Linked DNA regions of Homo sapiens: all the other regions are linked to region 2. Evidence: promoter capture Hi-C in 16 types of primary human blood cells and fetal thymus (Javierre and others, 2016). All regions are on one chromosome and are shown on one strand. Each heading gives the region's core, a stretch centred on a gene start or on the middle of the fragment in contact. The rest is flanking DNA. Distances are from core to core; before and after follow the strand shown. Region 1 overlaps SLC6A16 (solute carrier family 6 member 16). Region 2 holds the start of PTH2 (parathyroid hormone 2). Region 3 overlaps LOC107985340 (a long non-coding RNA gene). Region 4 overlaps TRPM4 (transient receptor potential cation channel subfamily M member 4). Region 5 overlaps LOC107985340 (a long non-coding RNA gene).

Region 1 (4,974 bases), core at 2,097-4,596, 130 kb after region 2:
GGTGACCCCTTTTTTGTTGCCTCTACTGTCAACCCACCTAGTGTGACATAGGGACCCTTAAGTTCAGAGTCTTCTGGGAAATCTTTTTATTCATTCATCCATTTTCACATATATTTTGGGTGCTGAATATGTGCCAGGCACTATTTTAGTCATCAGGGATAGGGGCATTGAATAAAAGAAGTATTCCTATTCTCAGAAAGCTTACATTTTAGTGGTCTAGAGAGACAATAACCAGATTAGCAAATAAAGAATAAAAACGTTGAGAATAAATACAGGCGATAGGAAGAATCAAAGGATGAGGTCAGATGGCACATAGTGGGAGTGTGTGTGGGCACCAAGTCACATACGACTTCAGGGAGGGCCCTTCCGATAAGGTGACATGTGAGCAGACTCCTGAATGATAGGAGGGAGGGAGTCATGACAAGATTTTGAGTAAAGTGCTCCCTGCAGGGAAACAGAAATTACCAAGGCCAGAGGAAGCATAATGCCTAGAGTTTTTGAGAAACAAGGAAGTCAGAGAGGCTGGAATAGAAGATATTAGGAGATGGGGCTAGAGAAGTGATGGTGGCCAAGTCATGTAGGGTTTTGTAAGCCACGATAGGACTCAGCTTTGTATGCAGAATGGCAGATGAAGCATTGGAGGGTTTTGAGTAGGAGAATGACATTTTCAGGTGGGAGTGCCATTATTAGATTTGTTTTTTAAAAAGGTATTTATGGCTGCTGTCTGGAGAACAGACCAGGAAGAGTCAAGAGTGAAGCCAGGATAAGAGTTGGAAGCTATGTAATATTTCTTTTTTTCTTTCTTTTTGAGATGGAGTCTTGCTCTGTTGCCCAGGCTGGAGTGCAGTGGTGCGATCTCAGCTCACTGCAACCTCCGCCTCCCGGGTTCAAGCAATTCTCCTCCCTCAGCCTTCTGAGTAGCTGGGATTACAGGCATTCACCACCACGCCCGGCTAATTTTTGTATTCTTAGTAGAGACGGGGTTTCACCATGTTGGCCAGGCTGGTCTCGAACTCTTGACCTCGTGATCACCTGCCTCAGCCTCCCAAAGTGCTAGGATTACATGCGTGAGCCACCCCGCCTGGTGAAAGCTATGTAATATTTCAAGTGAGAGCTAAGAATGGCTTGGTCAAAAGTAGAAGAGTTGTGGATTAAGAGAAGTGGTCTGATTCTGGAAGGTAGAGCTACCTGGGAAAGAGAACAAGATAATCTGGGAGTGAGACCTGGAAGATATAGCTGTGGAATGTAAGTCTATAGTAGAGGTAGCCAGGGCAACTCCGGGGGCACAGATGGTTAGTTAAGGAAGACTGGAGAGTTGGGGAAGGTGGCCTAGAGGAGAGGATGCTTGAGCAGAGCCTGGACAGATGAATAGGTGGAGATAGGGTGATGGGCACCCTAGACCAAGAGACCCCACTTGTATATTTATTGAGATTGAGAATATGTACTAAAGGAGACTGGATAGTTGGCTGAAATAAACTAGATAAGTTTCCCAAGGGCCAAATGCCACTTTCTTTTATCTGTGTTCAGTGCTGGATATCCAGCACTTAGAAGAGTTCCTGGTATAATTCAGGGGTGAAAGCCTCAGCATTTTCATCTGATAGTGGTTCTTGGAGTCAGTTTGCTCACTTATGGACTCATTTATTAACTCACCCAACAAACATTTTCTTGAGACTTTGTGTCAGGAAAGCCTTGTGGTACTGGGATATGAATGACTTACATTGAGATACTCTTCTCAAAGAGCTCAGAGTCCAAAGAGAAAGACGTATATAAGCAGAAAATCCCAGTACCCGGTGGTAAGTCTATAGTAGAGGTAGCCAGGGAAACTCCGGGGGCATAGATGGTTAGTTAAGGAAGACTGGAGAGTTAGGGAAGGTGGCCTAGAGAAGAGGATGCTTGAGCAGAGCCTGGACAGATGAATAGGTGGAGATAGGGTGATGGGCACCCTAGACCAAAAGACCCCACTTGTATATTTATTGAGATTGAGAATATGTACTAAAGGAGACTGGATAGGTGGCTGAAATAAACTAGATAAGTTCACCAAGGGCCAAATGCCACTTTATTTTATCTGTGTTGTTCACTGCTGGATATCCAGCACTTAGAAGAGTTCCTGGCACATCATAGACATTCTCATATTTATGGGATGAATGAAAGAGACTTGGCCTTTCTCCTGAGGCCATTGGATACCCATGGAAAGTTCTTGAGCAGGAGAGGGGTGTTTGGAAAAGTTTCTTGGGTTAGGATAGAAGACAGACTGACTAGGGGGAAGATGAGAGAGGACAAGACTTGAGATGAAACAGGAGATTAGAGATACAATAGAATGTTTGAAAGATGCCAAGGTTGGGCTGGCCCTGCCTCCAAGGTGGTGAGGCCTAACTGGGCATCCCACACTCTGGTGGCCCTTCTCCAGGTTCCTTGCAGACCTGACGATCCTGTTGGGCCACCCCATCTCTCCCATCTTTGGTTGGCTGTGGCCCCATCTGTGTCCAGTTGTGCTGCTAATCATCTTTGTGACCATGATGGTTCATCTTTGTATGAAGCCGATCACCTACATGTCCTGGGACTCAAGCACCGTGAGCCTCCCCCAGGACCCAGAACCCCTTTGGGAGTAGGGGCCAGACCTTTCAATTCACTCTGGGTGAAAGAACCCAGTCATCTCATTCTCTTACTGCCCGAAGACTCATGGGTTTTCTGCTTTGGTTCCCCACCCATCCTTCCCCTCCACAACTCTTCCTTTTCTCTTGGGGATTTTGATATTCTGAACCCTTTTCCCATCTCTCCACAGTCAAAAGAGGTGCTTCGACCATACCCACCGTGGGCACTGCTCTTGATGATCACCCTTTTTGCCATTGTCATCCTCCCCATCCCTGCATACTTTGTATACTGCCGCATACATAGGATTCCCTTCAGGCCCAAGAGCGGAGACGGGCCTATGACAGCCTCCACATCCCTACCCCTAAGTCACCAGCTAACACCCAGTAAAGAGGTTCAAAAGGAAGAAATTCTACAAGTTGATGAAACAAAGTACCCATCAACTTGTAATGTGACTTCCTAACTTCATTAATTTGGCTTCACATAACATATCCCTTAGAACAGATCCAATAGACAACTCTTAATATCAGCTTGCAACTGTTGATCTCCCTGGATCCAGAACCACTTTTATTTCCAAGAGGAGGGGCATTCTTTGGGGGTGTTCATGGGGCCTGGACTTGCAATCCCTTCCTGGGTCCCATCTTACCTGGTGACCACCATCATTGTTTTCCCCATCCTCTTCCTCAACACACATACATGCACAACACATATACAATACTAGTGATGTCTACCAGTCCTGCTACTTCTGGGGTGCCTGTCTCCTGGAATGGAGCTGGAGGAGCAATGCTGTTGGTGAATAAATCAGTCTACTGGAACTCCAAGGACTGGATGTAAGCAGATCTTTTTTTCCTATAGATGTCTCAGATGTTCAGTTTTCCTGTCACAAGGCTTCCAGTCTGTATTAGTTCATTTTCACACTGCTAATAAAGACATACCTGAAACTGGGAACAAAAAGAGGTTTAACTGGACTTACAGTTCCACATGGTTGGGGAGGCCTCAATCATGGTGGGAGGTGAAAGGCATTTCTTACATGATGGCAGCAAGAGAAAAAAATGAGGAAGAAGCAAAAGTGGAAACCCCTGATAAACCCATTAGATCTCATGAGACTTATTCACTATCACGAGATTAGGATGGAAAAGACCAGCCCCCATGATTCAATTACCTCCCCTGGTTCCCTCCCATAACACGTGGGAATTCTGGGAGATATAATTGAAGTTTATATTTAAATGGAGACACAGTGAAACCATATCATTCTGCCCCTGGCCCCTCCAAATCTCATGTCCTCACATTTCAAAAGCAATCATGCCTTCCCAACAGTCCCCCAATGTCTCAACTCATTTCAGCATTAATCCAAAAGTCCAGAGTGTCATCTGAGACAAGGCAAGTCCCTTCCACCTATGAGCCTGTAAAATCAAAAACAAGCTAGTTACTTCCTAGATACAATGGGGGTACTGGTATCAGGTAAATACAGCCATTCCAAATGAGAGAAATTGGCCAAAACAAAGGGGTTACAGGGCCCATGCAAGTCCAAAATCTAGCAGGGGAGTCAAATTTTAAAGCTCCATAATGATCTCCTTTGACTCCAGATCTCACATCCAGGTCATGCTGATGCAAAAGGTGGGTTCCCATGGTCTTAGGCAGCTCCACCTCGTGGCTTTGCAGGGTACAGTCCCCCTTCCAGCTGCTTTCACGGGCTGGTGTTGAGTGTGGCTTTTCCAAGCTCAGGGTGCAAGCTGTCAGTGGTTCTACCATTCTGGGGTCTGGAGGACAGTGGCCCTCTTCTCACAGCTCCACTAGGCAGTGCCCCAGTAGGGACTCTGACTCTGTGTGAGGGCTCTGACCCCACGTTTCCCTTCTGCATTTCCCTCCCTGGCAGAGGTTCTGCATGAGGGCTCTGCCCCTACAGAAAACTTTTGCCTGGACATCCATGCATTTCCATATATCTTCTGAGATCTAGGCGGAGGTTCCCAAACCTCAATTCTTGACTTCTGTGCACCCGCAGGCTCAACATCACGTGGAAGCTGCCAAGGCTTGGGGCTTCTACTCTCTGAAGCCACAGCCCGAGCTGTACGTTGGCCCCTTTCAGCCATGGCTGGAGTGGCTGGGACACAGGGCACCAAGTCCCTAGGCTGCACACTGCATGGGGACCCTGGGCCTGGCCCACAAAACCACTTTTTCCTCCTGGGCCTCTGGGCCTGTGATGGGAGGGGCTGCCATGAATGTCTCTGATATGGCCTGGAGACATTTTCCCCATGGTCTAAGGGATTAACATTAGGCTCCTTGCTACTCATGCAAATTTCTGCAGCTGGCTTGAATTTCTCCTCAAAAATGGATTTTTCTTTTCCACTGCATCATCAGGCTGCAAATTTTCTGAACTTTTATGCT
Region 2 (5,084 bases), core at 1,858-4,357:
GGGGTGGGCCATGTCCGGAAAGCCACAGCCCAAAGGCAGAGGGGCTGAGGGAGCGGCCTTGGACCTCAGGCCGGCGAGGAGGAAGACGAGGAAGAGGATCCGGCTGAATGATTTCATAGCTCTGGCAGATACCTATAGCTGCGGGGGAGAGCGGGAAGGAAGGGGTTAAGGCCGAAGGCTCCCAGGAGCCCCGCCCACTCCCGGAGGCCACGCCCACTGGAACACAGGTGGACCACGTCTGTCCGGGGCCCAGCTTGGCGCCAGGGATGGGAAGAGAACCCAATCGCAAGTCCCTTGGAGGCTTGTGGGGCGATGGCCCAGGTAGCCAAGAGAGACTGAGGCGCGGGGCTACTTGGGAGTCGTAGTTAATTTCCTTATCTGTTTCAGCGAGGGGTCCTAGAAAAATTGGGAAAGAACGACACTTCTCCAGGCCTCAGATCTCCTCGACTTCGACTTTAGGGAGTGTCAGGGCTTCGAGGGGACGTGGGATCTCCTTCCTCTCCGAGGTCCCCCGGGACACCTTGACTCAACAGTTGTTTACACTACAGGAGGCTCCTAACGGCTGAGGGCTGGACTCATGGATTTGAGGGAGGAGGGAGACATTTGGGCTCTGGGTTAAGAAGGTTGCTGGGGGTTCAGACTCCTGCGTCTTGCAGGGTGAGGGGGCTGAGGTTCCTGGCTCCTGGTTCTTTAGAGAGGAGAAGGCTGGAAGTTCAGGTGCCTAGAATTTTGAGGGAGCAAGGTTTGGGGGCTGGATTGCAGGGGTGAAAGGAGATAAGAGGCCTTGAGCTCTTGGTTCCTGAGTTAGAAAGGAATTGGGAGCTCTGAGTCCTCCAGAAATAGGGTCTGGGGTCTGGGCTCTGCAGAGTAGAGGGGTAGGGACTTGAAGAAGAGAGCTTTGGGGCAGGACTCTCAAGTCTGTTATTGAAGATGGAGCTAGGATTTCGGCATCTCCGGGGCCAGTCTGGGCAGAGAAGCATAGGTCTGTGTTCAGGTGGAGGTGGAGGCGGCCGACACATCGATGGGACAGGCTTACTTGAGGTCCTGGGGTCTCTTACCTGCTCTGGTGTCCAAGGTAACAGCAGATAAGCAGAGCTGGATGCAGAGAACGGTGAATGTTGCAGAACAGATCTGGGCAGGGCGGTGGGAGGTAGGGTCTCAGGGGCACACAGGTGACGCACCTCACCCCCTCCCAGGGGATCCTGGGAGCCTAGCGACAGACTTAGACTCTTAAAGGGACAGAAGTAAAGGACATTTTCTCTGGGGTGGGGAAGGGAGTTAGAAACTGGATTGATCTAGTGGAGATGTGGCCCAAATTATTTTTTTGAAACCAGTGGTCCTGGCCCTCTACCCTCTCCTACCTGAAAACCCAGGGGTCTAGTTCCCTGGTACCTTCCTATTTCAAGTCCCCTAAGTTGTATCCCCCAGCTCCCTCCCCCCAGACTCAGAACTCCAGTCCTCTAGCTCCTTCCTTCCTCAGATTCAGGAATCCAAGTCCCCAGCCTCCTCCTTCCCCAGAACATAGGAATCTGGGTCCCTGTCCCATCCACTCTTAGACTCAGGAGTCCAAGCTTCTGCCACCACCTTCCTAGGAAACTAGGAGCCCAAGTTCCCACATCCCAAGTTTCTACTGCTCTGTAGGACTTCCAAGTTTTGCCCATCTTCTCCTCACTGTGTATAAAGGCCCCTCTTTTTAAATTTTTTTTTTTTTTTGAGACAGAGTCTCACTCTGTTGCCCAGGCTGGAGTGCAGTGGTGCGATCTCAGCTCACTGCAACCTCCCTCTCCCAGGTTCAAGCGATTTTCCTGCCTCAGCCTCCCAAGTAGCTGGGATTACACCACACCTAATTTATGTATTTTTGTAGAGAAGGAGTTTCGCCATGTTGGCCAGTCTGGTCTCGAACTCCTGACCTCAAGTGATCCACCCACCACGGCCTTCCAAAGTGCTGGGATTACAGGCATGAGCCACAGCACCCGGCTGAGGCCCCTCTTAAGAGTCAGTGTGGACTGGGTGTGCTGGCTCACGCCTGTAATCCCAACACTCTGGGAGGCCAAGGAGGGCAGATCACAAGGTCAGGAGTTCAAGACCAGCCTGGCCAACAGTTTGGCGAAACCCTATCTCTACTAAAAATACAAAAATTAGCTGGGCGTGATGGTGGGCACCTGTAATCCCAGCTACTCGGGAGGCTGAGGCAGGACAATGGCTTGAACCTGGGAGGTGGAGGTTGCAGTGAGCCGAGATAGTGCCATTGCACTCCAGCCTGGGCAACAAGAGCAAGACTCCATCTCAAACAGACAAACACACACACACAAAAAGAGTCAGTGTGAGGAGGACTGGGCTTTAATCTTCACAGCACCCCCAAACTCCTCCCAGATAAGGGCTTAGACACATCCTTAGGGCAGCTCAGGAGCCCTGTCTGTTTTCCCCTCTTCTCACTCTCTGAGGTTTTTCTGATGTGGTCTGTCACTTTTCCTGTCCTCACACCCCTGCCACACGTACCCTTTGCCATTTCTTGCCTTTCCCCCCTCCCTACCTCACCCTCGATCTTTCTGGGCCTCTCGCTGCTGTATTTATCTCTGGGCAGCTCCTTCCAGACCAGGACGTCCTTCCATTTCCGTCTGTCTTTCTGAGAGCCTTTTCTTTCCCTCCTCCATCTCCATCTGACTGTTCGTTTCCATCTCCTTCGCTCTCTTTTCTTGTTTTCTTCCTTTTCCTTTCTTTTTCTGTCGTTCCCATTCTTTCTCTCTATTTCTTCCTCGGCCACTCTGTCTTTGTCCTTCTCTTTGTGTCTCTGTTCCTCTGACGGTCCTTCCGCCAGTCTCTATTTTTAGCCCTCTGACACACCCCCTGTGTCCACCTCTCTGTCTGTCTGTCTCTCCCCCTCCCTCGTCTCAGGTCCAGCTTCTGGTCCCAATTAGTTGGTGGCGGCCAAGGCAGCGGCAGGTCCCCCACCCCCGGCTCCTCATTACCGCTGGCGGCTCCTAATGAGCCTGGGGAGGGGGTGACCCCGCGTCCCCGGCCCCCCGGCCTGCGTCACTGCCCGGTGCGGGGGCTGCGGAGGCGATATAAGGGGGCTGCCACCATCGCTGCCCCAGCCCACTGCACGGTAGGGGACTGTGCGGGAAGCTGGGGGTGGATGCATGGTGGGGCCCGGGGTTCTGGGCCGGGATGCAGCCCTACTGAGCCCCTTTCTGGTTCTCCACAGGTGATGGAGACCCGCCAGGTGTCCAGGAGCCCTCGGGTTCGGCTGCTGCTGCTGCTGCTGCTGCTGCTGGTGGTGCCCTGGGGCGTCCGCACTGCCTCGGGAGTCGCCCTGCCCCCGGTCGGGGTCCTCAGGTAGGTGCCAGTCCCAGAACTCCCAGGGAGGGGTGGGAACTTGGAGAAGTGGGAAGAGAACCAAAGAGAAAGGGGACGGAAGATCCAGAAAGCGGAACAGAAGCCCAAAGAGAGGGCGACCGAGACCCAGCGAGAAGACAGAGACTAGGGGTGGGGGAAGGCGGGAGGAGGGTTTGGTGGTAGTGGTGGTGCGGGAAATGGACAGAAAATCAGCAAGGGAAAGAGACACAGAAAGATAGATCCCGAGAAAGGCGTGGAGAGGCTCGAAAGGAGTCGTTGCAGAAACGGATTCATTCTTTGAGCAACGTTTATTGGGTTCTTGGTGTGCGCCTGGCCATGCGCTGAGCGCTGTGGGCGGACAAGTGCATCAGACTCGGTCTCAGTACCTGGGGAGTTTCGAACCTGGTGAGCAGAGAGACAGAGACCCACACAGAGAACGAGAGAGACAGGGGGAGCCGGACCGAGCCACTCCACGGACTGGGCAGTAACGGGGCTTCGAGTTAGACCGCGGGGAGGACAGGCGGCGGCAAGAGCGAGTCTGGACGCGCGGTCACCGCGTCTCTCCACAGCCTCCGCCCCCCAGGACGGGCCTGGGCGGATCCCGCCACCCCCAGGCCGCGGAGGAGCCTGGCGCTGGCGGACGACGCGGCCTTCCGGGAGCGCGCGCGGTTGCTGGCCGCCCTCGAGCGCCGCCACTGGCTGAACTCGTACATGCACAAGCTGCTGGTGTTGGATGCGCCCTGAGCGCGCTGCCCGTCCCCATCTTAATAAAGACCATGCCCTGCGCTCCGGACTGCGCCTAGTTCCTGCGCGACCTGCGTGTGCGTTGGGTTGGGGGCGCGGGGCTTGAAATGGGGGGTAGAAAAGAGACAGGACTCTGTGTCGGCCACTCTGGCATCTCTCTCCTCAGTCCCCACTCTATTTTCTTTCCTCAATTCCGTTTCTCTCTGCCTGTCTTTGTCCAGGAAGCTGGCTTCTTTCCTATTTCTGGATCTCTGCTTCCCTATCGCCCCCACCCCCCCGCCCCCTCCTTTCATTCTGGGCCCCTGTCCCTCCCTACCCCCATCTCTGTCCCCTTCTCTCTGGTTCTCTGTAATCTCCAAGGTCTCTGTCCTCCTCCGTCTCTGTCCCTTTCTCTGGGTCTCTTTCCTCTCTGGGTATGTGTCCCCGTCTCCCTGGGTCCTTGTGGTTATCTCCCCTTTCACCCTTTTGGCTTTCTGGTCTTCTGGGAATCTCTGCCTCCTCTCTCTATTCTCCTTCTGCCTCTGAAACTCTTCCTTCCCTTCTCCATCACTTTCTTTTTTCCTTTTTCCTCTGCCTGACTCCTTCATATCTTCCTTTTCTTTCCTCCGTTAGGTTTCTATCTGTCTCTCCATCAGCTCTCATCTTTGAATTTCGCTGTTCCTCCCTCCCATCACTTCCAGACTTCTCCCCAGGCACAGTGGAAAGATCGCGGGCTCTGGTGTGAGGCAGCCCTAGCATCCAAACCCAGGGTCCTCCAAATCTAGCTGCGTAGTACTGAGAAAGCCTTCTTGACGTCAGTCTCTGTGTCTCCTTTTCTTCATCTGTTACGAGGATCCAATAAGATATACTTCATAAGACTTCAGTACAGCGCCCGTTACGTAGCAAAACGCTTTTATTTGAAAAGGGTTTCCTCTTCTCACAGCAGCGTCCAGCAATTTTTTTCAGGGTTTTCTGACTTCGGGTCTCCTTCTCTAGAGACCTTCGGGGCGCCAGGCTGGGGCAGG
Region 3 (5,302 bases), core at 2,296-4,795, 180 kb after region 2:
ACAGTGTTTCACCATGTTAGCCAGGATGGTCTCGATCTCCTGACCTCATGATCCACCCGCCTTGGCCTCGCAAAGTGCTGGGATTACAGGCGTGAACCACTGCACCCGGCCATGAATGTTTTTATATCTGTGGGTAAGTGCTTAATCTGGGTAAGGTGAGTGGAAGAGTTTTCATAGGTGGACAGACTTTTTGCACAGCTAAGAAGAAACCATCCAGGCATTTAATAACAGCATGGGCTGCCAATAGGTAGTGTAGTCTTGAAGAATCCCCAACACATAAGTCAACTGCTTGATCCAACAGTTATCCTCACAGTAGTCCCAGGAATTCTGCTGAGGAAGTGTGTATAAGTCTTATGATGCTCAGAGTCCTGGGCCCCACTGGAGTTGAATACAAAGAAAGACCATAAACATCTAAAGCCACAACCCAACTCACTCAAACTCAATGACAACATCAAAGGAACTAGTCTGATGGCAGGTGCAGAAGGTTGGGGCATCAAGGGCGAAGTGAGCTCTCTTAATTCCATGTGAAGGTGGAGAAAAATTTAATTAAGACTGTTCCCAGCCCCAGCTCAACTCAACTCTTAGAAAAATCTAAATAGCCCTCATCCTAGCCGACTTTTGGGATAAAAGGCATGAACTCATTGAAACTAAACAAAGTAAACAAATAACATGCGTTTTTTCTTCTACATACAATATCCAGCATAAAATTTAAAATAATAAAACCAAGAAAATGTAACCCATGACCAAGAGAAAAATGACTCACAGATCATCCAGACATTAGAATTAGCAGACAAGAGCTTTAAAACAACTTACAAATATGTTAAGGAATTTAATAGAAAGCGATGGTTTTCAATATTCAGAAAGATATTGAAACTCTAAAGAACCTCATGGGAATTCTAAAACAAAAAGATGAAAGTTTCACTGGATGGGTTTAATATGGACTGGAACCAGTGGAAGAGAGGATCAGCTTGAAGATAGCTACATAGAAATTAAAGTGAAGCAGAAAGAGAAAAAGAATTAAGAAAAGCTAAACATAGTATCAGCGACCTGTGAGACTAATATATGTATAATTGGAGTTTCAGAGGGAGAGGGGAGAGAAGCAGGGCAGCAATTATCAACCTAAATAATGTAGGACTCAACCACAGGCTGTTTTCAAGAGATGCCCTTCATAAAGACACAGGTTAAAGTAAGAATGGGGCCAGGCACGGTGGCTCATGCCTGTAATCCCAGCACTTTAGGAGGCCAAGGCAGATGGATCACCTGAGGTCAGGAGTTCGAGACCAGCCTGGCTAACATGGTGAAACCCTGTCTCTACTAAAAATACAAAAAATTAGCCAGGTGTGGTGGCACATGCCTGTAATCCCAGCCACTTGGGAGGCTGAGGCAGGAGAATTGCTTGAACCCGGGAGGCAGAGGTTGTAGTCAGCCAAGATCGTGCCACTGCACTCCAGCCTGGGCAACAAGAGCGAAACTCCGTCTCAAAAAAAAAAAAAAAAAGGAATGGAAAAACATACCATGCAAACCAATGAGAAAGCTAGTGTGGTAACATTAACATCGAAGTCAAGCAAGTAACACTACAGATTAGGAAGAGGATTTCATAATGATAAATGAGCCAATTCAGCAGGAAGCCAGAATTATATAAATGTTTATGCAGCTCATAACAGTTTCAAAATAGATAAAAATTTTCAGAACTCCAGCAAGAAACACATAAATTCATAATCATAGTTGGATAACACTTTCTTTTCAGTAGCTGGTGGAAAAGATAGAAAAAAAAAAAACATTTAAAATACAGGGAATTGGCCAGGCACAGTGGCGCACACCTGTAATCCCAGCACTTTGGGAGAATGAGGCAGGCGGATCACTTGAGGTCAGGAGTTTGAGACCCACCTGGCCAACATGGCAAAATCTCATCTCTACTAAAAATATAAAAATTAGCTAGGTGTGGTGGCATGTGCCTGTAATCCCAGCTACTCAGGAGGCTGAGGCAAGAGAATCGCTTGAAGCCAGGAGGTGGAGGCTGCGGTGACCCAGCCTGCACAACAGAGACTCTAAAACAAAAGGAGCACCATCATAGATCTTGATGACATCAAAATAATAATGGAATATTATGATCAAAATTATACCTATAAGTTCAACTTAAACACCTTGCAAGGTACAAATTACAAAGACTGATGCAAGTAGAAAATCTAAATAGCCCCATTTCTGAGTTTAAAAGTTAAATTTGGCCAGGCGCAGTGGCTTGTGCCTGTAATCACAGCACTTTGGGAGGTGGGTGGATCACTTCAGGTCAGGAGTTTGAGACCAGCCTGGCTAACATGATGAAACCCCATCTCTACTAAAAATATAAAAATTAGCCGGGCGTGGTGGCAGGCGCCTATAATCCCAGCTACTCGGGAGGCTGAGGCAGGAGAATAGCTTGAACCCAGGAGGCGGAGGTTGCAGTGAGCTAAGATCACGCCCTCCAGCCTGGGCGACAGAACGAGAGACTGTCTCAAAGTATATTAGCAAATTTAATCCACAAACAAAGTGGATACAGTATAAGCAAGTGGTTTTATCCCAGAAATTAATGTAACTTATTACATTAATAGATTAAAGGGAAGAACCATTTGACAAAATTCAACACCTATTATTGGAGGAAAAAAAACCTGCAACAAACTAGAAATACAACAGAACTTCCTCCATGTGCTGGGCAGAGATTCTCTACCTGAACATGATGGGGATTTTGCCCAGAAAATTCTTTGCTGGGGTGGGGAGAGGCTGTGCTGTGCATCCTAGAATGCTTGGCAGTGTTCCTAGCCTTCACCCTCAAGATGCCAGCATCAACGCTCCCCACTCAGCTGTTTGTGACAATGAAAAATGTCACATGACAGGCCAAGTGCAGTGGCTCACGCCTGTAATACCAGCACTTTGGGAGGCCGAGGTGGGCGGATCATGAGGTCAGGAGATCGAGACCATCCTGGCTAACATGGTGAAACCCTGTCTCTACTAAAAATACAAAAAATTAGCCAGGCGTGGTGGCGGGCGCCTGTAGTCCCAGCTACTCAGGAGGCTGAGGCAGGAGAATGGCGTGAACCCGGGAGGCGGAGTTTGCAGTGAGCCGAGATCACGCCACTGCACTCCAGCCTGAGTGATAGAGCGAGACTCAGTCTCAAAAAAAAAAAAAAAAAAAAAAAAAAAAAAGTCATATGACATTACCAAATGTCCCTGGAAGAGGTGGGAAATCACCCTCGGTTGAGAATCATTCATTGTGTTAAGGATATTAACAACAATGACAAAAGCTACAGCTAACATCATACTAAATGATGAAATACTGAATACTTTCCCCAATACTGAAAACAGGGAAGGGAAATCCCTTTACACCACTTCTGTTCAACACTATAGTGAAGTTCCTAGCCAGTGAAAGAAGGCAAGAAAAAGATATAAAAAGCATAGAAACTGGCTAGGAAGAAGTAAAACTGTCTTTATTCACAGATGTCATAAGCATGTAATTAGGAAATCCTAGGGAATCTACAAAAATAAAAAGCTACTAGAATAAGTGCACTTAGGAAAGTCACAAAAATAAAAGCCAATATACAAAAATAATCACATTTCTGCATACTAGCAACAAACCATAGTTAAGTGAAATTTTAAAAACAAAACCATTTACAATAGCCTCAAAAATCAAATGCTAAGACTATATTTAACAAAAGATATTCAAAAATCTCTATACTGAAAACTACAAGGTATTTTTGAGAGAAAAACCTAAATAAATGGAAATATTTGTTTATGAATTCAAAGAATTGGTGTAGGCCGGGCGTGGTGGCTCACGCCTGTAATCCCAGCACTTCGGGAGGCCGAGGTGGGTGGATTACTTGAGCTCAGCAGTTTGAGACCAGCCTGGCCAACATGGTGAAACCCTGTCTCTACTAAAAATACAAAAAAATTAGCTGGGCATGGTGGTACACACCTGTAATCCCAGCTACTCAGGAGGCTGAGGTAGGAGAATCGCTTGAGCCTGCGAGGCAGAGGCTGCAGTGAGCCGAGATCGCACCACTGCACTCCTGCATGGGTAACAGAGTAAGACTCTGTCTCAAAAAACAAGATATCAGTTCTCCCCAAATTGATCTACAGATTCAACACAATGGCAATTCAGATCTCAGCCAGGTTTGTTGAGGAATTGACAAGCTGATTCTAAAATGTACATGAAAATGCAAAGGACCGGCCGGGTGTAGTGGCTTATGCCGGTCATCCCAGCACTTTGGGAGGCCAAGGCAGGAGGATCACCTGAGGTCAGGAGTTTGAGACCAGCCTGGCCAACATGAGGAAACCCCATCTCTACTAAAAAATAATTAGCCAGGCGTGGTATCGGGTGCCTGTAATTTCACTTAGGAGGCTGAGGCAGGAGAATTGCTTGAACTCAGTAGGCAGGGAGGTTGCAATGACCTGAGATCACACCACTGCACTCCAGCCTGGGCAATGGAGCAAGACTCCATCTCAAAAAAAAAAAAAAAAAAAAAATGCAAAAGACCTAAAGTAGTCCAAACAATCTTGAGAAAGAACACGTTGGAGACTCATACTATCGAATTTCAAGATTTACTATAAAGCTACAGTAGTCAGGGCAGTGTTATATTAGCCTAAAGATAAACCAAAAGATCAATAGAACAGAACAGAAATCCACCTATACACATATGACCAATTGATGTTCAGTAAAGATATCACAGCAATTCAATGGGTAAGGGAAAGTCTTTTTAACAAACAGGGCTAGAACTACTGTATAGCCATATAGAAAAATATAAACATATTCCTGCCACATACCATACCCCCACCCCAAATTAACAGGAACCAAAGACCTAAATTCAAAAGCCAAAACTAGAAACTTCCGGAAGAAAACATAGAATATCTTTATGACCTCGGGCTTAGCAAAGATGTTCTATATTAAATGTAACAGGCCAGACACAAATGTCTATGTATTGTGTGAATCTATTATCTATGAAACCCAAGAACAGGTCAGACTTATATGTAGTGATGGAAATCAGTCATTGCTTCTGGGGTGAAGAGAAAGGAACCCAAAGTAACTCTCTGGAGTGACGGAAATTGGGGCATTGGTGACAGGGGTCATTTGTCAAAACTCATTAAAGTATACATTTAGTATCTGTGCTTGTTGTCTGTAAATTATAGCTCAATAAAAACTGAGTTTTGGCCAGGTGTGGTGGCTCACGCCTGTAATCCCAACACGTTGGGAGGCCAAGACAGGAAGATCGCTTGAGCTCAGGGGTTTGAGACTAGTCTGGGCAACATAAGGAGACCGTGTCTCTACAAAAAA
Region 4 (4,918 bases), core at 1,860-4,359, 220 kb after region 2:
ACGCGCCTGTAGTCCCAGCTACTCGGGAGGCTGAGATAGGAGAATCGCTTCGATCTGGGAGGTGGAGGTTGCAGTGAGCTGAGATCGTGCCATTGCACTCCAGCCTGGGCAACAAGAGCAAAACTCCATGTAAAAAGTAAAGTACAGGTTCCTCTTCAAAGACTTTCCTCCCCATCTAATTAACAATAAATAGTAACTTCTCTTAGAAACAAAATTTATTCAAACACCTGTGCTAACATTCTTAAATATCTACTAGCCATAAAAAATAAATCAATGTACTTTATGTTCTTAGCTCTCACAATTTAGCCTAAATATTTGCCCTGACATACTTATACTGGTTCAAGCAAGCATTAGATCATAGCCTGTTCCTCTTCCTTATTTAAAAGTGTTTTTACCTTTCTCAACATTCCACAAGTTACTTCCTCCTTCCTTTGTTCTCCTCTGCCTTCGCTTCTTTTAAAAACTTCTAAGTTACTAGCCAATCAAGACAAATACAAAATGTAAAGTCCGGTTCCAGCCAATAAAAACCAGACACAGCAGTAAAATAGACGCGTCAGGTTATAAATGACCCTATCTCCTTTGTTCCGTGTACTCTCATGACAAAACTGCTGGCGAGTGTACCCTTTCTACAAAAAATAAAAATGGCTTTACTAAAAAAATTAAATTTATGTTCAAGTACTATTTCTTTACGACACCACAAAATAAACATTTCTAACATCCATCTCAAAAAAAAAGAAAAAAAAAAAGAAAAAAGAAAGACAGACAGAAAGACAGAGGGGGTGGGGTAGGCAGAGACCCAGAGAGATGATGATGGGGAATATAGGGTATCACTCAGAGATCCAGAGAAAGAGGGAGACAGAGACTCAGAGAGACAGATATTTTCTTAGAGCCAGGAGGACAGAGACCCAGGGAGCGGGGACAGAGACTCAGAGGAAGGCTGTCAGGCCGTCATCCCCCCTACCGTCCATGTCCTCCTGGGGAATCTGCCCGAAGATCTGCAGGTAGGGACGGTAGAAGACGCGGCGCAGGATACTTGGGAAGTCACTGTCCCGTGGCCTCAGGAGCCCCTCCGTGGCCACGCCATAGGCTACCAGCCACACGCCGAGGAAGAAGAGGAAGAAGAACACGTCCTTCATCTGTGGGGAGATGTGGCTGAGTCTGGCCCCGCCCTTTCCTACTCTGGCCCCACCCCTATATCCCAAAAACACGCCCCATTGCTCCCCAAAGTCACGCCCCTTCTCCACGGACCACTCCCTCCCTGGCCCCACCCCTTTCCCTATGTCCCCGCCCACTTTGGCCCCGCCCCTGCCTCACCATCTTGCTCACGATGACGATCTTGGGCCCCAGCTGTTTGTTGACCGTGAAGATGTGAAGCAGCCGCACCGTGAAAACCATGAAGTCGATGCAGAGGACAGTGCGGCCCAGGTGGTACAAACCCGGGGTCAGCCTGGGGTGTGGGGAGATGCCACAAGGGTCAAGTGTCACAAGACGCCAAGGAAAATGGAAGTCTTCCCAATGCCATCCTTCAGAGGAAGCTGCAGCCTCCACCGGGCAGGACCAGGACCCTCCCAGTCACCCGGGGTTTACTCAAATTTATTCAGTACCAAGCTGGTCCATGCAGGGCCCTGGCACCCATTTTTAAAATGGCTGCGCCTATTAAGTAATGACTGAATGAACGATGGCCTTAGCAAAGAGCTGGTCCCTGTAAGAATCAAGCTGGAAAAACTGCCGGAATATCTGTCCAACCTATAAAAGGCAAAACATATAGAGTCCTTACAAACTAATACGCAAAAGGAAGGAAGCCAGATAAAGGATACCACGTACAATTCACAGAGGACGTTCAAACGGCCAGTAAACATCAATAATTCCTATGGGGAAAATAAAAATTCTACCCCTATTTTGCATCCTCATGTACTTAAACTTTGGATGGATTAAAAACCTAGTGTATGGACAGACGCGGTGGCTCACGCCTGTAATCCCAGCACTTTGGGAGGCCGAGGCAGGCTCAAAAAAAAGAAAAGAAAAGAAACATACAAAAGTGAAAGTGAAAAGACAAGCCACAGACTTCGAGAAGATATGAAGATATTAAGACCAACAAAACTACCGAGGATTAGGATCCAGAGTATAAGGAGTATATACATTTATACATATACAAATCAATGAACCCCAATTAAAAAAACGGGAGGGTGGCCGGTCGCAGTGGCTCACGCCTGTAATCCTAGCACTTTGGGAGGCCGAGGCGGGCGGATCACGGGGTCAGGAGATCGAGAACATCTTGGCTAACACGGTGAAACCCCGTCTCTACTACAAAATACAAAAAATTAGCCGGGCGTGGAGGCAGGCACCTGTAGTCCCAGCTACTCAGTAGGCTGAGGCAGGAGAATGGCGTGAACCCGGGAGGCGGAGGTTGCAGTGAGCCGAGATCGCGCCACTGCACTCCAGCCTGGGCTACAGAGCGAGACTCCGTCTCAAAAACAAAAACAAAAACAAAAACCAAAAAAAAAACAAGGGGGCACAAGGACATATGGCCATTAAGCTTAGGAAAAGATGTCCAACCTATCTGGTAGTCAAGAGTGCATAAATTATAACAAGGAGAGGTCATGTTTACCCATTAAATTGGCAAATTTTTTTTCAGTTAAATTGAGAGCTACATTTTAGAGTGAAAGTATCAGGCATTGTCGAGCATGGCCTCAAGGGGGCACTCTCTTACCCTGATGGCAGGTGTGGAAATGAGTGAAGCTACTTAGAAGGAAATCTATCCATGTCAAAAATAAATGTACCCTTTGACCCATAAACTTTACATCTGGGATGTAAACTTTTATTATTTTGGAATAATAAAAAAACAGAAGGCTGAGCATAGTAGCTCACGCCTGTAATCCCAGCACTTTGAGAGGCCAAGGTGGGAGGATTGCTTGAGCCCTGGAGTTTGAGACCAGCCTGGGCAACAGAGTGAGACCCTGTCTCTATTTAAAACAAAAAAAGAAAGAAAGAGAGAACCTAAATGTCCATCTAGAGGGAACTGGCGAAACAAAGGATGATTCATCCATTCAATTCCGGAGATGATTAGACATTTCTCCCTTTTTTTTTTTTTTTTTTTTTTGACAGAGTTTTGCTCTTTTCACCCAGGCTAGAGTGCAGTGGCATGATCTTGGCTCACTGCAACCTCCGCCTCCCAGGTTCAGGCAATTATCCTGCCTCAGCCTCCCGAGTAGCTGGGATTACAGGCGCCTGCCACCATGCCCGGCTAATTTTTTGTATTTTTAGTAGAGATGGGGTTTCACCATGTTGGGCAGGCTGGTCTCAAACTCCTGATCTCAGGTGATCCACCCGCCTCGGCCTCCCAAAGTGCTGGGATTACAGGCATGAGCCACCACGCCAGGCCCGTTTCTCCCTTTTAAGCTGAGATCTTTCCATTTTTCACCTGGAAAGTGGTAGGCTTGATAAACTGTCCAAAATATCACTGGCAATCCTAGAGCATGGTAGCATATGGCCTTAGCCCTTTCATCTCAAAAGTCACTTTATACAAAATACAACAAATTACAAACAGAAGTATTAGTGTTCTGCAAAACTCTCATATCTTGCTCCCTGCTTGAATAAATTATTTATGTTGAATCACTTTGTAACACTGCTAACATAGCTTAGAGGAAGCCTGCCTCTCAGCGTGTCTACTGGGAAAAGCTTGAGTAGGGATCATCACTGTCATCACTGTCAACCATTCAGGATGTGTCAGGTCCCTTGTAAACAGTCACCAGGTTGTTGGCCAGGCACGGTGACCCACATCTGTAATCTCAGCACTTTCAGAGGCTAAGGCCAGTGGATCACTTGAGGCCAAGAGTTCAAGACCAGCCTGGTCAATATGGCAAAGCCCCATCTCTACAAAAAAAATACAAAAAAAATTTAGCTAGGTGTAGTGGTGCATGCCTGTAATCCCAGCTACTCACGAGGCTGAGGCAAGAGAATCGCTTGAACCCAGGAGGTGGAGGTTGCAGTGAGCCAAGATCGTACCACTGCACTCCAGTCTGGGCGACACAGCGGAACTCTGGCTCAAAAAAAAAAAAGAAAAGAAAGAAAACAAAAACAAACAAACAAACAAAAAACCAGTCACCAGGTTGTATCCACAAACTTTTCTGTTTGCTCTCCTCAAAAGGAGGAGTATCCTAATGCAGGATACTCCATAATGCAGGCAGGGCAAGGGTTAAACCCTTAGCTTGGAGGGATGGAAGGAAGCATAGAAGGAAGGAAGGAAGGAAGGAAGGAAGGAAGGAAGGAAGGAGGGAGGGAGGCAGAGGGGCAGAGGACAGAGGGAGAGAGAGAGAAAGAAAAGAGAAAAAGAAAAAGAAAAGAAAGGAAAAGAAAAGAGAAAGAAAGAAAAGAAAGAGAGAGAAAGAAAGAAAGAAAGAAAGAAAGAAAGAAAGAAAGAAAGAAAGAAAGAAAGAAAAAGAAAGAAAGAGAAAGAAAGAAAGAAAAAAAAAGGAAAGAAAGAAAAAGTCGGGGGCAGGAGGGCAAGGGGCCTGGGACCAACGAGCTATGTGGAGGAAGAGAAGGGAGGAGGTGAGGTTGGCACCCAGGTCGGGGCGCTCCCATAAATATCTGTTAAACTTCAGGCCTAGCAATAAATAGCAGCAGAGGCTGAGTGGCGGACAGTGGGGTTTTCTCCTGAATCCTGCCGTCCCTGAAGCCAGATCTCCAGGTGCCAGCCAATTACCCTGGGGCAATCGTCATGCCCGACTTTCCTAAGAGGGGTTCTCAATCAGCAGGGTTGGCTTGACCTGCTGCCCAGCTGCGGGGAAGCCGGGAGTGGAGACCCCGGGAGTGGGCAGGAAGGATGAGAGGTGGCCAGGGGCCAGGGTTCCAAGGCCCCGGGGCACTCACCGGCAGCCCACGCCCAGGAGGAAGCAGGTGAGAGCCACTAGGTCGC
Region 5 (4,851 bases), core at 142-2,641, 200 kb after region 2:
TCAGGCCAACCTTGAGTATTGACCTCAACTCTCAACTATGTCCCCCAGGGTCCTAGACTCAGCCAACTGTGAATAAGTCTCAAGGTGGCTCATGCCTGTAATCCCTGCAGTTTGGGAGGCTGAGACCGGCAGATCATTTAATCTTAGGAGTTCAAGATCAGCCTGGGCAACGTAGTGAAGGCCCATCTCTACAAAAAATACAAAAACAATATTAGCCAGAAGTGGTGGCACACCTGTAATCCTAGCTACTTGGGAGGCTGAGGCGGGAGGATCCCCTGAACCCAGAAGGTTGAGGTTGCAGTGAGCCAAGATCACGCCACTGTACTCCAGCCTAGGTGACAGAGCAAGACCCTGTCTCTAATACAATAAAATTAAAATAAAAAAAAAATAAAAGTCCAGGTGTGGTGGCTCACGTCTGTAATCCCAGTACTTTGGGAGGCCGAGGAGGGGGAATCACCTCAGGTCAGGAGTTCAAGACCAGCCTGATCAACATGGAGAAACCACGTCTCTACTAAAAATACAAAATTAGCCGGGCATGGTGCCACATGCCTGTAATCGCAGCTACTTGGGAGGCTGAGGCAGAAGAATCGCTTGAACCCGGGAGGCAGAGGTTGCAACGAGCTGAGATCATGCCATTACACTCCAGCCTGGGCAACAAGAGTGAAACTCCATCTCAGAAAAAAAAAAAGTAAAAACTGGTCCCAGAGGACCAGTACATCTTATTTTGGACAACCAGGATATAGTCTAAGGCGACTCTATTGTCCATTATAAGCAGAGCAGAGAACTTTAGGCTGATCTGCTAAAATACCAAAAAAAGAAATTTAAAAATAAAAAAACTGATCTGATCTTTGATGTCTTTACAAACAATTACAGGGTGACAACAGATGAGCCTAAAAGCAACCCCCATCCACAATGGGCATGCCACAGCTTACCTCCCCAACCTGAGAAGAGACAGTCATTGGATTTTGTTGTTAAGCTTGGCTGGAATTACCGTTACATTGTCTCAGTTAAGCCACATAAGTAATATCAGCAGGTTGTTTCAACTAACACAGGAGTGAGCCAACTTTTTCTGGAAAGAACCAGGTAATAGTATTTTGGGTTTTGTAGGGCATTTGTTTTCTGTGGCATAGTCATCTTTTTCTTTTTTCTTTTTGAAACAAGATCTTGCTCTGTCACTGAGGCTGGAGAGCTGTGGTACAATAATATCTCACTGCAGCTTCGACCTCCCAGGCTCAAGCGATCCTCCCACCTCAGCCTCCCGAGTAGCTGGGACTACAGGCGTGCACCAGCACACCCAGCTAATTTTTAATTTTTTGTAGAGACAGGCTTTCACCACATAGCCCAGGCTAGTCTTGATCTCCTGGGCTCAAGTGATCCTTCTGCTTCAGCCTCCCCAAGTGCTAGGATTACAGAGGTGAGCCACCACACCTGGCTTTTTTTTTTTTTTTTTTTTTTTAAACAATTCTTGGCTGAGCCGTGGCTCACGCCTGTAATTCCAGCACTTTGGGAGGCTGAAGCAGGTGGATCACTTGAGGTCAGGAGTTCAAGACCAGGACGGCCAACATGGAGAAACCCCGTCTCTACTAAAAATACAAAAATTAGCCGGGCATGGTGGCGGGCACCTTTAATCCCAGCTACTCGGGAAGCTGAGGCAGGAGAATGGCGTGAACCCAGGAGGCGGAGCTTGCAGTGAGCCAAGATCATACCACTGCTCTCCAGCCTGGGCGACAAAGCGAGATTCCATCTCAAAAACAACAACAACAACAACAACAACAACACATTCTTTAAAATATATGAAAAGCTTTGTTAGTTTATAGACCACACAGAAACAGGTCACAGGCCAGATGTATCCCACAGGCTATAGTGTGCCAACTCCTGATCTAGCACCATGTCGGTCCAACAAGGGGATTCTGGTGCCTAAACCAGCATTAGTTTGAATCCCCTACTTGGCCCCCTCAGGACTCAACTGCCATCTGGAGGGCATGACCACCAGGCTGTCCAGCGGAAAGAAAGATGCATCATTCCCAACAATGGTCAGCGGGCAAAATTGTACTTTTTTTTTGAGACGGAGTCTTGCTCTGTCACCCAGGCTGGAGTGCAGTGGTGTGATCTCGGCTCACTGCAAGCTCCGCCTCCCGGGTTCATGCCATTCTCCTGCCTCAGCCTCCTGAGTAGCTGGGACTACAGGCGCCCGCCACCAAGCCCGGCTAATTTTTTGTATTTTTAGTAGAGACGGGGTTTCACCATGTTAGCCAGGATGGTCTCGATCTCCTGACCTCGGGTCTCTGTAACTCCTCCAACACTTCTGTCTCAGGGACTATCCAAGATGCAGCCAAGAAGAGATGAAGCCTCTTCTGGGACTGCCACATTCAGTGACCAAACGGCCTGAGTAAAGTGTGTGCGGCCGGGTGTGGTGGCTCACGCCTGTGATCCCCCCACTTTGGGAGGCCAAGACGGGTGGATCACTTGAGGTCAGGGGTTCGAGACCAGCTGGCCAACATGGTGAAACCTATCTCTACTAAAAATACAAAAATCACCTAGGCATGGTGACGCCTATAATCCCAGCTACTTGGGAGGCTGAGGCAGGAGAATCGCTTGAACCCAGGAGGCAGAGGTTACAGTGAGCCGAGATGGCACCACTGCACTCCAGCCTGAGCAACAGAGCATCTGTCTCAAAAAATAAATAAATAAAGTGTGTGGATCAGGAAGAGGTAGGAAGGGGAAACCAGAAACCTTTTTGAGCTGATTCTTGAGGAAGATGATCCAACAATCAATAATACCAGACACCCGCAGATAGTGAGGAAGTTACAAAGTCCCATTGAATACCTTAAATATCAACCAAACTGCAATCAATGTCTTCCGGAGTTGGTGTTGGGGTTAGGTGGTTGCTGCCCCCTAGTGGACATCTTTAGGTTTAACATAGTGGAATGCGCCCAGCCGTTTAAGGGAACCCGTTTGAATTGAGGGCCCCATTGAGCCAGAGGAATTGCCTCAGGCAGGGGAGTGGAGGAGAGTTTTCTCCAAATGGGGTAGCTGCTGCGGGGTGCGGCGGCTCACACTTGTAATTCCAGCACTTTGGGAGGCCGTGGCAGGAGGATTGCTTGAGCCCAGGAGTTCAAGACCAGCATGGGCAACACAGCGAGACTCTGTCTCTGGAAAAAAAAAAAATTAAAAAATTAACCGGGTATGCTGGCGCATGCCTATAGTCCCAGCTACTCAGGAGGTTGAGGTGGGAGGATCGCTTGAGCCCAGGAGTTCCAGGCTGCAGTGAGCCACGATCATGCCACTGCACTCCAGCCTGGGCAACACAGCAAGACCGTCTCGAAACAGAAAACAGAAGAAACAGGGGTAGCTGTGACTTTTGTATGTAAAACTCAGAAGACCTGAGGACCAGACCAGCTGTGCTCTTAGACGTACCCTTTACCTTTGGCCATTTCCGGTATTGCTAGTGAAGCTGCAGTTAACCTACCCGAGAACAAGGGTGTGAGGCTGGGGAGTCAAAGGCCACCACAAGCCAGGCGTTTGCTTTCAAGGAGAGCTTAATAGTGATTCATAGCGGCCTTCTTTTCTTTTTTTATTATTTATTAGAAGAGAGACAGGGCCGGGCACGGTGGCTCACGCCTGTAATCCCAGCACTTTGTGAGGCAGAGGTGGGTAGATCCCAAGGTCAAGAGATCAAGACCATCCTGACCAACATGGTGAAACCCAGTCTCTACTAACAATACAAAAGTTATCTGGGCATGGTGGCAGGTGCCTGTAATCCCAGCTACTGGGGAGGCTGAGGCAGGAGAATCGCTTGAACCCCAGAGGTGGAGGTTGCAGTGAACCGAGATCGTACCACTGCACTCCAGCCTGGTCACAGAGCAAGACTCTGTCTCAAAATAAATAAATAAAATTTTAATTTAAAAAAAACAGAGATGGGTTTTCACTATGTCGCCCAGGCTGGTCTTGAACTCCTGGACTCAAGCAATCCACCCACCTCTTGGTGTGAGCCACCGCACCCAGCCCAGCTGCCCTTTCTTTTTAAAAGGAGTGTACTTGGTGGCCGTGTCAGGCAGGTGGCACTGTGGCACTGGGAAACGGCTTCCCGGAGCACTCCAGCAGCCATTTAGTCATTACAGTTGTGTTTCCTTTTCTACTGGGATCCCACATTGTTTCTGGTAGAGGTGAAGAGGGCGGCATATGCCACAGCCTCCGACTGGTAGAATCCTCTGATAACAAGGCATGTGTAGTTTTTTCGAGCATGTAAAGCATCAGTACCAATTACACCCGCTCAGTCGTGGAAACCACACAGCGGGACATTGAATTGGCTCTAGGTGCCACACCCAACGAGATCTCTTCAGCTTCCCTTCCCACTGGGAGCCTGACTGGTTGAATTCAGGTACTTGGACCAAGAAGTCTGTGGGTCAGGGACTACAGCCTCAGCCCTGGAGCAACTTGGGGCTGGGGGGCATCCCAGGGGGACAGCAAAGGCAGGGGAAAAAAACTCATTGTTGGTCGGGCGCGGTGGCTCACACCTGTAGTTCCAGCACTTTGGGAGGCCGAGGCGGGCGGATCACTTGAGGTCAGGAGTTCAAGACCTGACTGACCAACATGGAGAAACTCCGTCTCTACCAAAAATACAAAATTAGCCAGGTGTGGTGGTGCACACCTGTAGTCCCAGCTACTCAGGAGGCTGAGGCAGGAGAATTGCTTGAACCTGGGAGGCGGAGCTTGCAGTGAGCAGAGATCGCGTCATTGCACTCCAGTCTGGGCAACAAGAGTGAAACTCCATCTCAAAAAAAAAAAAAAAAAAAAAAAAAGGGCCGGGCATGGTGGCTCACACTTGTAATCCCAGCACTTTGGGAGGCA

The links. Contacts are between HindIII fragments. The CHiCAGO score rates a contact against its expected background, and 5 or more counts as called.
Region 1: a contact is called between a fragment that was not itself captured here and the fragment with the promoter of PTH2 in region 2, in 2 of 17 cell types (naive B cells and total B cells). The highest score is 9.9, in naive B cells.
Region 3: a fragment that was not itself captured here is called in contact with the fragment with the promoter of PTH2 in region 2 in 3 of 17 cell types (total B cells, naive B cells and endothelial precursors); the score reaches 10.4 in total B cells.
Region 4: a contact is called between a fragment that was not itself captured here and the fragment with the promoter of PTH2 in region 2, in 1 of 17 cell types (naive B cells). The highest score is 5.0, in naive B cells.
Region 5: a contact is called between a fragment that was not itself captured here and the fragment with the promoter of PTH2 in region 2, in 2 of 17 cell types (total B cells and naive B cells). The highest score is 10.1, in total B cells.

The regions. Positions count from the first base shown.
Region 1 is chr19:49,288,201-49,293,174 of GRCh38, reverse strand. It overlaps SLC6A16 (solute carrier family 6 member 16), which reads left to right. Exons shown (of 12, transcript NM_014037.3): 11 at 2,408-2,570; 12 at 2,783-3,537. The coding sequence ends at 3,052. Among named protein-coding and RNA genes, the nearest start is that of MIR4324, 18 kb to the left of the region's middle. The HindIII fragment of the contact is 6,288 bases long and covers 203-4,974 here.
Region 2 is chr19:49,421,464-49,426,547 of GRCh38, reverse strand. PTH2 (parathyroid hormone 2) reads left to right here and starts at 3,107. Exons shown (of 2, transcript NM_178449.4): 1 at 3,107-3,336; 2 at 3,906-4,129. The coding sequence starts at 3,209. The coding sequence ends at 4,080. GFY (golgi associated olfactory signaling regulator) reads right to left here and starts at 1,160. Exons shown (of 4, transcript NM_001195256.2): 1 at 1,059-1,160; 2 at 1-138. The coding sequence starts at 117. RefSeq lists a silencer at 2,788-2,991. The HindIII fragment of the contact is 6,183 bases long and covers 1,574-5,084 here.
Region 3 is chr19:49,245,907-49,251,208 of GRCh38, reverse strand. All of the region lies in intron 2 of LOC107985340 (a long non-coding RNA gene), which reads right to left. Among named protein-coding and RNA genes, the nearest start is that of MIR4324, 60 kb to the left of the region's middle. The HindIII fragment of the contact is 8,311 bases long and covers 1-5,302 here.
Region 4 is chr19:49,196,829-49,201,746 of GRCh38, reverse strand. It overlaps TRPM4 (transient receptor potential cation channel subfamily M member 4), which reads right to left. Exons shown (of 25, transcript NM_017636.4): 17 at 4,873-4,918; 18 at 1,315-1,447; 19 at 962-1,136. Among named protein-coding and RNA genes, the nearest start is that of TRPM4, 41 kb to the right of the region's middle. RefSeq lists a silencer at 4,662-4,918. The HindIII fragment of the contact is 1,142 bases long and covers 2,539-3,680 here.
Region 5 is chr19:49,224,256-49,229,106 of GRCh38, reverse strand. All of the region lies in intron 1 of LOC107985340 (a long non-coding RNA gene), which reads right to left. Among named protein-coding and RNA genes, the nearest start is that of TRPM4, 69 kb to the right of the region's middle. RefSeq lists an enhancer at 2,979-3,028. The HindIII fragment of the contact is 825 bases long and covers 979-1,803 here.